Regions from separate parts of the Homo sapiens genome. Here region 1 is linked to region 2. The links are contacts of gene promoters, found by promoter capture Hi-C in blood cells and fetal thymus (Javierre and others, 2016). All regions are on one chromosome and are shown on one strand. Each heading gives the region's core, a stretch centred on a gene start or on the middle of the fragment in contact. The rest is flanking DNA. Distances are from core to core; before and after follow the strand shown. Region 1 holds the start of GSK3B (glycogen synthase kinase 3 beta). Region 2 holds the start of TOPBP1 (DNA topoisomerase II binding protein 1).

The links. Contacts are between HindIII fragments. The CHiCAGO score rates a contact against its expected background, and 5 or more counts as called.
Region 1: a contact is called between a fragment that was not itself captured here and the fragment with the promoter of TOPBP1 in region 2, in 1 of 17 cell types (fetal thymus). The highest score is 5.0, in fetal thymus.

What each region holds. Positions count from the first base shown.
Region 1 is chr3:120,090,750-120,097,067 of GRCh38, forward strand. GSK3B (glycogen synthase kinase 3 beta) reads right to left here and starts at 3,698. Exons shown (of 11, transcript NM_001146156.2): 1 at 2,598-3,698. The coding sequence starts at 2,685. It overlaps GSK3B-DT (GSK3B divergent transcript), which reads left to right and starts at 4,355. Exons shown (of 3, transcript NR_186629.1): 1 at 4,355-5,029. RefSeq lists enhancers at 3,877-4,286, 3,913-4,207, 4,487-4,806. The HindIII fragment of the contact is 487 bases long and covers 4,350-4,836 here.
Region 2 is chr3:133,657,393-133,663,661 of GRCh38, forward strand. It overlaps TOPBP1 (DNA topoisomerase II binding protein 1), which reads right to left and starts at 4,549. Exons shown (of 28, transcript NM_007027.4): 1 at 4,377-4,549; 2 at 3,652-3,742; 3 at 1,624-1,758; 4 at 406-549. The coding sequence starts at 3,735. It overlaps LOC124909487, which reads left to right and starts at 3,834. Exons shown (of 3, transcript XM_047449438.1): 1 at 3,834-3,954; 2 at 4,121-4,641; 3 at 5,507-5,946. The coding sequence starts at 3,834. The coding sequence ends at 5,656. It also overlaps a transcript of TF not described here. RefSeq lists a silencer at 4,336-4,505 and an enhancer at 4,906-4,975. The HindIII fragment of the contact is 9,162 bases long and covers 1-4,675 here.

The sequences.
Region 1 (6,318 bases), core at 3,343-5,842, about 14 Mb before region 2:
CATCTTACGTCTTATTCAGCAACCAACAATAAATCCAGATCTCTTCTGAATCTCAATCAAACTTGTACAGAACCCCTCTGCCCTCCATCAGCTAACTTTCTCTTATTTCTCAAATTCCATCTGTTCTTATGTTCTTATTTAGGCCCCTTTAATTCAGATTTGTCAACTTGATTATTGTCTCTCATGCAAAACTCACCATCATTGTTCCTTGGTACACTCCTTCCACCTAGACCTTTCATGCTTTTCTACCAGTTCAAGTTACCACCTCCTTTAACATCAGTCCTAATACACCTTGTCCGCAGGAAGTCTTTCCTCTCCCAACCATCAGTCTCACCCCTTTACTCTTTGCCACTCTGAACAAATGATTCAATTTGTATTTTACAATCTTGCAGTCATCACGCTATTGTTTTAATTTTTTTTTCCCCATAGCCTCCCTCTACAACTAAAGGATAAGCTTTTGAGAGCAAGGACTACAATTTCTTATGTCTGTTTTCAACAGGGGTTCCTTAGAATGCTAGCATCCTAACAAATGCTTAAAGACTCCCCTTTCTTTTAAATGCTTTTAAAGTCAAAGCTGTCAAAAACACATAATTAACACTAAACTCCAACTTTTAAAATTCTAAATTGACCTATATGGTAATCGGAATTAAACATTTTCATCTATATATTTTACAAGAGTTACTCCATCCTTAGTTAGTATCTGTATTACCAAGAATTCAAGAGTCATTTTCAAAGAAAATCCTGAAAAGAAAATGAAAAGTCCCAAAATGTAGCATTATAATCTAGCATTACAGATCTCTGAAATAAAGCTAATAAATCAATTAGCTGAAATAGACTGACTGATTTTCAAACTATATTACCAAGATGTAAAACATACAAACACTCCAGTACCACAAGAGGCTCTTAAGTAGCTATTATAAGATTTGTATCATCATAGCTGAAAATTACCCCGGAATTTTAAAATATTTTTCAAATCACTCCATGAAGTGCTTAGAAAGCACGACCCTTCCCTGAAAGATGCATAATCAGCTTTCCTCTTTACCTACCCGGGCATTCTCTACTTGCAAGCCACAAGAAAAAAAAAAAATTAACTTTCAAAAATTATCTCCCATTCAGCTATTACCTAGACTACCCTGTTTCAGGCTAGTTCCCAAAGCCAACATGAATTGAAATCTTGAGTTCAACTAAAAGTGATCATTTTATGTTGCCTAAGAATATAATCAATTTCACATAACATCATGTTTTGCGTGTGTGTGGGTTCTTAAAATCTCAGTTCTTTAGTTCTCTCAGTTCTTCTAGGCAACAAATTAATTTGTCTTTGCCCTCATGATGCCCCTCTTTCCCACAATAAGGAAACAATATAGATATTTTTGTTAAATTCTGCAAGTATGTTTAAACAAGCTATCATTAAATACCACATGAACTTCTCCATAAATAGAGATACACTGGAACATTAGATACTTAGTATATATTAAACACTTCAAGAGCATACTTTTCAGCACAAACCCAGGACAAGAGTAGTCTATCCACAACCCTGAACACAGCCCAAATATCCCTATTATTTCTAGGACCATAGCCATCTGCAAAAGCCAAAATGGAAAGGACTAAATCCACATTCTTCTAACTAAATCCACAGTTATCTAAATATGATGGAAACTAACGCTAGAGTGTTTTAAATCGTCCTTTTTAAGGAACCCGCCAGAACATTTAACAGGTAATGAATGCAGTAGCACTCCAAAATTGAACTTAAATGTAATGAGCCAGTGACAACATTTAACTTAGTATTTGGCACTATGACAAAACAAATCTCAATCAAAACTTGGACCTATTAATACTTCCAAGTTAACTTTTGATTAAACATAAATTATACGGTGGCAGGTTGGTAATGTCAAAACAGGAAGGTTAAGAGATAACACATCAAACCACTTATCCAATTGAACACAAATGCATACAGAGATGTTACTGCTGCTAGGTATTTATTGGCTCCCACTAGTCCCTTCTAAAGAGAGAAATCAATGGCAGCCTCCAAATGTGAATGGTTACTGAGGAAGTTCATCCACAGATTAAGAACAAATATTATGTGTAGTCATACAAACAAGAAAAAAATGTTGGGAGGGTGGGACATTTAACGTCTCTATTAAGTATATCAAACTATGATAACCCCTGAGACCTAAAATATTCTCTCATTCCAAATTCCAAAAATTCTGCAAATGTGCATAATGGTTTAGTAATCAAATCTTGTCCTTCTCTTTATTCTAAAGGATGGGCAAGTAAACACTGTCATCACTACTTTAACGTGGAAACACTCGAGCACTTGATGAAACTGACTACCAACAGCAAGAAAAGTACAAGAAAGCAGTTTGAAATCGAATCATCCAAATAAATATCATATTATCTCAATTCAAGGTTAATGAGACCGGGGGAGGGGGTATGGGAGGAGTAAAAAGGGAGCTGCTTCATCCTTGACTGAAGATAGGTTTTGCCCTTTTCCATTGCCTGTTTATCAGGAGGTCTAATAATTTCAGATCCTGGTATTTCGAGGTTTCTTATTTTAAGGGCGAGGTGGAAAAGGGGTGTAAAATAAAACCAATACTCACTGCTAACTTTCATGCTGCCAAAAGCTGAAGGCTGCTGCACCGGCTTGCAGCTCTCCGCAAAGGAGGTGGTTCTGGGCCGCCCTGACATGATCACTCTCTTCGCGAATCACCTTTTCCTTCCTTCCTCCTTTTCTTCCTTTTGTCTTTATGTTGGGGTGTTAGGTTAACGATAAATGCAGCATTAAGTTCTCCCACAGAAGAAAAAGAAAAAGACTTCGTCCTCTTGGCTTTTCACTCCTTTTGTATACTATAAAAAACAAAACAAGCGATATATTTCTCCTTCAAGACAGATCGGCACGGATATTTAACATATAGATGATTTAGGACTTGGGAAAAAATACAATTCTTTCCCCTCCCTTTCCTGGGAGGAGAGAAAAGAGAGGGCAAATCCTAAAAAAATATGTATCACGTGAAACGGGGGCAAATACTTGATTGAAAATGAGTACTTCGAATATTATATTTTCCTCGGGGATTTTTTTTCCGAGTCAATGAAGAAGGGAAGCGGCGGAAGGATCACGAGTCTCACGCTTGAAGAGAAAGGGGGATGGGTAGGAGGGAGGGAGAGGGAGGGAGGGGGTGGCTCGGAGATGCGACGGGAAACGCTGCAGCTCCGGCAAGCCGCGGGATCCGGCGGGCTGACGGCAGGGGCCCGGCGAACTAGAGGGCGGCGGAGTCGCGAGTCAGTCAGAGGCGGGCGGTGGCGGTGGCGGCGGCTCCTCTCCTCATTGCGCCAGGAGCAGCTGCAGGCGGCGGCTGGATCCAGCGGCCATGGCGGTGGCGGAGGCAGCTCCCTTCAGACCCCAGGCAGCGGCTCCTCGACTGTTCCCCATTCGCCGGGGACATGGGAACCCGGCAACCGCTTCCGTCCCTCGGGGCCCCCTCCCCCGTCCGCGGCAACAGCTCGGCCGCCCTCCCGCCCCTCGGCTCTGCTCGGTGCCCGCTCAGGAAGTGTCCGCGCTTTGCCCCAGCCCAGAGCCCTGTCAGCGGCTGCGGGGCCGGCTCCTCCTCGCTTCCTTCCTTCCTTTGTCACTTGGCCCGGGCGGCGGCGGCGGCGGCGGCGGCACAAGCCCGCATTCGCCCGGGTCAGGAGCTGCTCTGTGTGAGGAGCGCTGTCTGCGCAGCCGCCTTGCACTTCCCCACTCCTCCTCCCCCCTCCTACTCGTCCTCCACCTCCTTCCTCCCCCACCCAGCCTTACACCGCCCAGCGCCCCGCCGCCCGCGTAACAGGCGTCTGGGAATCGCCGGCCGAGCCCCACGCTCGCCCGCTTCGGCTGGGAGCCGAAGCCCGAACGGAGCCAATCACGGACGTCGTTTGTTTGCGGCTCCTCCCGGAAAAAGCCGATCAGCCTGAGAAACCAATTAGAAAGTGACGCTGGGAAGCCACGCCCAAAGAGCGGAAAATGCCGAAGGTAGCCGAACGGAAAGGGTGAATTCGCCTTGTTCGGTGGCTGGCTGGAGGAGACATTCGACAATGGCAACAGTGGCCAATCAGAGTCGCCGGCCCTTACGAAGAGGCTTGAAGAGTTGAGGACGGTGAAACCCAGAGACGCTGGTGAAACTGCACGGCTGGGCGCCGCCGCCGCTTTGTGATTGGCTGGAAAACTCCGCTGGGAGCGTACCTCCTTCGGTGATTGGTGAAGAGAAGGGGGCTTCCGAGGACAGTCTGGCCAGTCAGGACTTCCCCTCCCTCTCCAAGGTGGGGAGAAGAAAGCGAAGGGAGGGCGTCTATAAAGCGCTGTCTCATTGGCCTGAAGCTTAGGCGCTGGAGTTGGGGCAAAAGGGAGAGGGAGGGAGCCCGAAACTCGCGGCGGCGGCCAATCGGCTCTCACTGCCGTCCAATCGCAAGACCTAGCTGCAGTGTGATTGGCCTTCGGCCCCGGTCCCAGGAGCGGGGAGATGCCTGACTCGGGTCGTGGCTGACGACCCGACGGTTCGCCTGCGGCCGCCTCCAACAACGGTGGAAACCGCACACAGGGACCGCGGGCCCTCGGTGCAGCAAATCGGAAAGTGCTGCGGTCGGCGGCCCTGGGCTCTGAGCGCTCAAGCGAGCAGAGGGGTGGAGGGGCTCTCCCCACCCACAGGAGGCTCTCGGCGGGGCGCAGCCAATTCTGCGCGCCCAAGGCTCCCCTCTGCCGTGGATCGCGTGTGCCGAGTGTTGGCCTCTTCCCCGAAAGGGCCAGACGGACCAAGGGGGCCTTCCCAGCCGGCTGCAAGCTCTCAGACGCTAAAATGGGAACAAAGCTTCCAGAAAGGCAGCGCCTTTGGGCGGCCGCGCCCCGCCCAGCCGCGGGGGCCATTGATACAGAGGCTTGCTGCGCTTGGTGTGCGCGGCCCGGCCGGGCCTCTGGAAACGCCCATGAGAAATGAGCTCATGCTGGATGCGCGCGCTCCTTGGGCGCAACTGCCCAGCGCAAAACGGGCCCCGAAAGCAGGTGAGGGGAAATGCCGTCAGGCCGGATATCCTGAAGCCTCCGAGGAAATGGGGGGGTCAGAGGAGCCCGTGGTAGCTTTGGATCTTTTGGAACTAGGGTGATCTATAAAAGTGCAGCTTGAGAAGATTTCATACATAAGACCAGCGTCCATTGTTCTACCATAGAACCAGTTCCTTTGGTCTGCTTTAGAACAGTGAGGTATGGCTACGTCAAGATAACAGAGAAAGTAGAACAGACAGTTGCCATCCTGATTGTAATCCAGTGGTGCCTGTAATTTCTACCTGCAGAGTCATCTCTTTCTGTTAAGATGCTGTCTCCAGAAAGCACATGTTAAAGGACCTATATTTGATCAGATTACCTGGCTCTTGCTTTGAAACACTGATGAAGGACTTGGGACAGAACAAAGTAAGCTTTGATGGAAGACAGGAAAGGTCTAGATAGTGTTTGCAGATTCAAATGGCTACAGAGGCCAGACAAGTAAAGCAAATGAGTGAGACTGGCCTTGTGTAAGACAATGGGGAATGATAGGGAAAATGGCAAATTGGAATATCCATGCCATAACTAAAAGGAACAGCTGCTCAACTCTAGCAGATTGTTGCCCTCAGGAATGTGGGTCCAGTGTTCTCAGATGTTCAATTTTTTTCCTCCCAAAAGAAACCCCAAAATTGGATTTTTGTGTGAAATCTCTGCATTTTTAAATGTTGGTAACCAAATTTTCAAACCCTGCAGGCCAACCTAAAAACATCCCTTGGCCAATGAGGCATTGGAAAAAGTGTTAATAATTGTTAGGGGCCCGATAGCAGTAGGAGGGTGAAAACAAAATGGTTTGGGACCTTAAATAATTGAAATGTATCTTTATTTATTTATTTATTTTTGAGACGGAGTTTCACTCTTGTTGCCCAGGCTGGAGTGCAGTGGCGCGATCTCGGCTCACCGCAACCTCCGCCTCCCCGATTCAAGTGATTCTCCTGCCTCAGCCTCCCAAGTAGTTGGGATCACAGGCATGTGCCACCATGCCAGCTACTTTTGTATTTTTAGTAGAGACGGGGTTTCTTCATGTTGGTCAGGCTGGTCTCGAACTCCCGACCTCAGGTGATCTGCCTGCCTCAGCCTCACAGAGTGTCAGGATTACAGGCGTAAGCCACCACACCGGGCCGGTTGAAATTTATCTTTAAAATAGTGCACCTTTAATCCTTTTTTTATTTCTGTGTGTATCTTATAATGTGCATATCATGTTAGCTCAAGATCAAGAGTTTATGGACAAGCCAGGAGTGGTGGCTTATGACTGT
Region 2 (6,269 bases), core at 3,299-5,798:
TTTTTCCAAAACGAAATCTTGCTCTGTCACCCAGGCTGCAGTGCAGTGGCGTGATGTTGGCTCACTGCAACCTCCACCTCCCTGATTCAAACGATTTAGAATCCTTTTTTTTAAAGACTGTCCACCTATAGTGGAAAAATGTAAGTGATTAAAAAATGAGTGTCCTTTTAAATTAAAACAAAAAATTTCAATTAGCCAGTTTTCAACAAAACAAATTCTACTATATTCAATTTACTTAAAAAATGTACATGTATACATATATACACACTGTGGTTGTATACTGAACTTTGTTAAAAGTCACGAACAATAAGCGGAAAGTCTTTTAAGCTATCTTCTATGCAGTGAAAAATTAAGAATAAGAGATAGATATATAAATTGATCAATCATCATGAGATCAATATCTACCCTTTTTTCTTTTTCCAGACTTGTACAAGATATGGTTACATCAGACATAACCATATTATAAACTGGATGTTCGGCTCTTGGGACACATCGCTGGTGGTGCATACAAAATATGACTACTTGAGGACCAACAATTCTGCAGCCAAGCTACAAAAAAGAGAAAAGTTTAAATGAGTTAAGAAGGAAAAGACCACCAGTCTTACAAAATTACATTTTGTAACATTCACCAATTCTTTACCAAAGTTGATGACCACTGTAGAGAAATCAGCAAATCATTACAAGAAAAAAATAAAGATGACTATATAATTTCTCAGAGATACTATACATTAAACACTCACACACAAAAGCAAATCAAACAATGCAAGCTATCAAAAGAAATAAACTTCAGGCCAGGCACAGTGGCTCACGCCTGTAATGCCAGCACTTCAGAGGAGGCCGAGCGGGGGTGGATCACCTGAGGTCAGGAGTTCGAGACCAGCCTGGCCAACATGGTGAAACCCCGTCTCTACTAAAAATACAAAAATTAGTCGGGTGCAGTGGCGGGCACCTGCAGTCCCAGTCTCTAGGGAGGCTGAGGCAAGAGAATTGCTTGAACCCAGGAGGCGGAGGTTGCAGTGAGCTGAGATCACGTCACTGCACTCCAGCCTGGGCGACAGAGTGAGACCCTATAACAAAAGAAAAAAAAAAAGAAAAGAAAAGAAATAAACTTCAAAAGCCCCTTTCACTGAAAACTGCCTTACTGCTTACATCTATAAGCCCAATATTTTGGGAGGCTGAGGTGGGAGGATCACTTGAGTGCAGGAGTTCAAGACCAGCCCAGCCTGGCCAACATCGAGAAACCCTTTCTCTACTAAAAATAAAAAAATCAGCCGGGTGTGTATATACATCTGTAATCCCAGCTACTCAGGAGGCTAAGGCACAAGAATCACTTGAACCAAGGAAGCAGAAGTTGCAGTGGGCTGAGCTTGTGCCACTGCACTAAAGCCTGGGCAACAGAACAAGACTCTGTCTCCAAAAAACAAAAACAAAAACAAACAAACAAACAAAAAAAGCCTACTGTAACATAATTAGCCTTTCAATCCTGGTCTTGCCAAACCAAAAGAATTCCAATGTACTCATAAGTTGCATAGTACTTTATAATCCGCAAAGAATGTATGTCCATTAAAGCAAAGATAAACCAAAAAATAGACTACCAAAGGTACACACTAGAAGTCAGCAAACCTTTTTGAGGTGATCAAAGACAACGCCACTAAAAGGGTCACAGATATAAAGTGATCTATCATTCTCCTTTATCTTCAATGCCTCTTCTTCTGTAATAATCTGAAGATATTCTTCTGATTGGAATTCTTTTATGGACTGAAAGAAAAAATAAAATAAGAATGTACCTGAAATTACTCTCCTGTATTTAGGTCCTATTCAAATTCCATCTCAAATCCAGCCTTTTCCCTATTGAAAGCCACCATCACATCTCACTTAGACCTCTGCAGAAGGCTCCCAAGTGGTCTCTTTTTCCCTTCCTTGCCCTAAATCTGTTCTCTACACAGCAGCTAATAATCTTTTCAAAAACACAAGTCAGATCATGTCACTATCTGCTCAAAACCTAATGTCTTCACACCACACCCAGAATAAAATCCACATTTCTTACTACAGCCTTCAAGACAACACAGTCTGGTTTCCTGCCTATCTTTCCACCTTTACCTCCTACTTCTCATCTCTCTTGCTTATTCTATTCCAGCCACTCCCGCTTTCTTGCCAACCCTGGAACAAGCCAACCATAACCTCATTTAGAGGCTCTGCTCTTGATCTTGCAGCACAGAATACTTTTTTTCCAGGTTTTCACCTGACTTAATCCCCCACTTCAATCAGGTCTGCTTAAATGTCACCTCCCCAGAGATGCCCATCCTAATCAGGCTTTCTCAAATACCCTTCCTCTACCCTTCTAGTCTATTCTATTTAAAAATACGTATTTATATATATATATATAGTTTTTGTCTCTCTCCCCTGGAAGTTTCTATGTATCTTGTTTGCTACTATATCCTGACACCCAGTAAGCACTCAGAAATGTTCTGAACCAATTTTGAGGTCCTTATGTTAAATACAGTAATCCCTTTAAAACTGTAAGTCAGATCATGTTTACTCTTCTGATTATCAACCCTCCAATGGCTCTCCACTGAGAGAAAAATGGCCCACAAGGCCCTACATGACCTCTTTACCATTATTCTCTAACGCATTCCTTAGTACTCTTCCCCCATCCCTCACTCACTACACAACAGTACACTAAACTTGGATAGAGACTACAGGCACTTTCCCAGGGGCTGTATAAGGTTGCTCTCTCTGCCTGCAACATTCTTCTCCAGATATCTGCAAGGCTATCTCACCTCCTTCACGTTTACTCAATATCTTTTTCTTCATAAAGCCTACCCTGATCACACCCTATTTAAGATTATAACCCCCTTCTCTTCCCACCCCAAGAAACATCCTCTGGAACCCCTTAACGTGTTTTGCTTTTTTCTCTTCCTAATTTATCATGTCTGATTAGTGTCTATGTCCTCCTGCTAGAATGTAAGCTCTGAAAGAACAGAAATCTTTGCCTGTTCTCATCACTGATAAATCCCAAGTACTAGAGAAGTGCCTATCAAATCATGAACACTTCAATAAATACTTGCTGAATGAATGAAGTTTAAAAAAATCTGCTACAAATGCTTCTCAAACTTTAATGCACACTGAAGATCTTGTTAGAAATGCAGATTCTAAGTCTGGGTTGGAGGCCAAGATTCTGCATTTCGAAGAAACTTCCAGGCCATGCTGATACTGCTGGGTTCTGTGAGAAGCAAGGATCTACATCACCCCTACTATCATCCAATTATTATACTGTACATAATAAAACATAATTTTTAACAATTAACCAAAAAATTTTCAAGTATGACCAGTACACAACTGACTCAAATTTCTACAGCACGCAAAGGACCACTCTGGCTAGGAGACAAATGAAAGCAACTTAATTTCCAAGAACTGTAGGTCAGCCATATTAAACAGCAATGTGATAATAGACTTCCAGCCCCCCGAAATACATAATGATGTACTTAGATCAATTCAAAAATATGTGATAATGATATATCTGTATTAATGTAGACTATAAAATTATTATGAAAGTGAAATATCTACTTCTAAGACATAAAGCCCAACAAATCAAAAACACTTAAAAACAAGAAAATGAATTCACGGTATTAAGATGTTTTCAACTCTTACCTCGAGAGCTTTAAAAAAACATTTGGAATTGTCTGAAGACTTTAAAAACTTCACAAAAAACGGTTCTTTGTCATTTCTGGACATTTCTGAACTGTCAAAATAAAGGAACCATTAACAAGAACAAAACCACATTAGATAAAAAGTTGCATGTTTAACCTACCTATTTTTCTGTGCAGACAAGAATGCCTAAAGACAGACATTCTGGCTCTGCCCGTGAATTCGTCAACGGCATTTCTAAGAAATCCTGGAACTTGGACAAAGCCAAGGTAAAAGATGACAACACCAATCCTTGCAAATCAGACAGCAAAATTAACCCGAATTGAATACACTGAGGAAGGCCCTGCTATGAAGGCTCTAAGCCCTTTAGGCCAATGGACATTCAATTGCACTTGTTTTAAGGATACACAGAGTGTATCTGTCCCTGCGGATACCCACGGCCTGCGAGGTACGTTCATCCCTCAGTAAACAGATTTTAAATATAAACATGGAAGCCAGTTAGCATGGTCTTGGCCCTGCATAAGGCTAGATGCTCCGGTTCCCATCTCCAGGAAAAGGCCTGGCTCTGGGATCACGGAAGCCACGTCCTCTCGGCGTCAAAGGCCCACCCGCCGGCTCCAGGGCCAGTTACCAGGACAGGAAAAGAGGGTCCTGAAGGCCACAGAAGGCATCGCGAACCCCAGTTGGGGCTGGGGAGGAGCTGTGTCCCCACTCCGCGCCTCACTTACCTCGTTGGAGCCTCGGGGTCTCCGGGCGGCGAGTCGGGGGACGCGCTGGCCGCAGGGCGGTGGCTGGGGTCGGGCGCCAGCCCGGCGCACAGCCCCCTCCCCCGACTCGGCGCCGCCCCTACCCCAAAGCAAACGCTGGAGAACCCGGAAATTGCCCAGAACGGGAACCGACTTTCGCGCCAACCGCGCGGCCGCGCTTGCCTTTTCCGGTGGAAGTGACGCCATCGGCAGCTGCAGCAGAAGAGCGGAAATGTCAAACGTGGAGGTGAGCAGTCTGTGGGCGGTGGGGCTTCAGGGAAAGCTTGGGCCGGACCCTTTGGGTTTAGGGCTTTGCTGGGCGGGCCTAGTCTCCGCTGCGAGTAGGCCCAGCGCCGTCGGTTCAAGAGGTAGGACCACAGGCCAGGAATACTCCTTTACTGTTAAAAAAGCCAGGGAAAGAAAGGATTTCCTCAATAGATATTTATTTTACACCTGTCTTATACCAGGCATGCACGGGAAAAGGTATTATCCAAAACAATTCCGTGAGGCAAATAGTGGTAGTTCCATTTTGTAGATGTAAAAACGGAGGAAGTTAAATGATGGGTTCAAGGGCACACGGCTAGTAGGTGGTAGAATTAATACTGCATCCAGGTCTTCTGACTACGGACTGGGTGGTTTCCCTCCAACACAGCAGGAATAGAATCACCGCCTAACACAGCCACAAGATGGCAAGGGAAGAAAGGATGACTTATTACACAGCTAATGCAAAGGGATCTTTGTCAAGATCTTCAATGGTCTCCCCTCCTCCTCCCCTTCAGTGGACATCGCCGTTCTCTTTCTCTGCATCTGCCTCAGTACTGGGGAGATTCTGGGACTGAACCTAAGATTCAGATGGCAGAGAGCAAAGGGAGAGGGGATAAGATGGGCCTGCAAACCTTAGTGATAACCAGCGGAAAACTGATTCGTTGTTGCTTCTTTTCATTTTATTCTTTTTTAAAAAAATTTTTTCTTATTTTATAAAATCTAGCCACTATACTAATGAGGATCATTTTATTATTCACTGCTGAGATTGAGAAAATGACTTTGGATTTACTAATGTAAAAGTATAATGCCATGTCCCTTGATTGTTTTTGTTTTTCTTTTCTTTTTAGAGCCTAAAGATAGTAATGAGCAGCTTGAGTCTTAAGTTTTTGAATACACCGATGGAAGGTGACAAAGATTCTTTGCTTGGCCAAACTTTAGTCAGACTCCTCAACCTTCTCGTAGGTTTATCTGTGCATTTCCTTGGAAAATCCAGTTAGAACCCTCTACCCTCAATATCTGATCAGGTTCCTCATCCTCTACCATCCAAGGTGATGTCTGATCACCTTGACCTATTTTCAGCAAGAAACCCCTTTACTCCTGAAGTTCCTTCTTAGTAATTTTTTATCCAGTGACCCCAAGCTTTTTGTTCCTTGGCTATAAATTCCCACTTGCCCATGGTGTATTTAGAGTTGAGCCCACTCTCTCTCTCCTAATTCAGAATCCCATTGCCATGGTTGCTATACCTATCCTGATGGTCCGGAATAAAATCTGTCTTACTGTGCTTTAATAAATATCATTAATTTTTTTTTTTTTTTTTTTTTACCAGAAATGAGTCAGAATCAATTAACACTGGGGCTCAAAGGTAAAGGCCTATTGCTGGGGGAAGGGTGAAGAAAGCCTTAAAAGCAAAAAAACAAAAATCACTAGAGGTGGGAAAAAAAAGAAACCACAGTTAATTGTTAAGGTGCAAATCTGACCTGAATCTGTAATAACAATTAATATTTCTAGGGCACTTTACAGTTAACATGGGACTCCTGCTCACACTATTCCCGTTTACTCTTTTCAGCAACCCTATAATAGATGGGTATCATTGTCTCATGTTATGGAGAT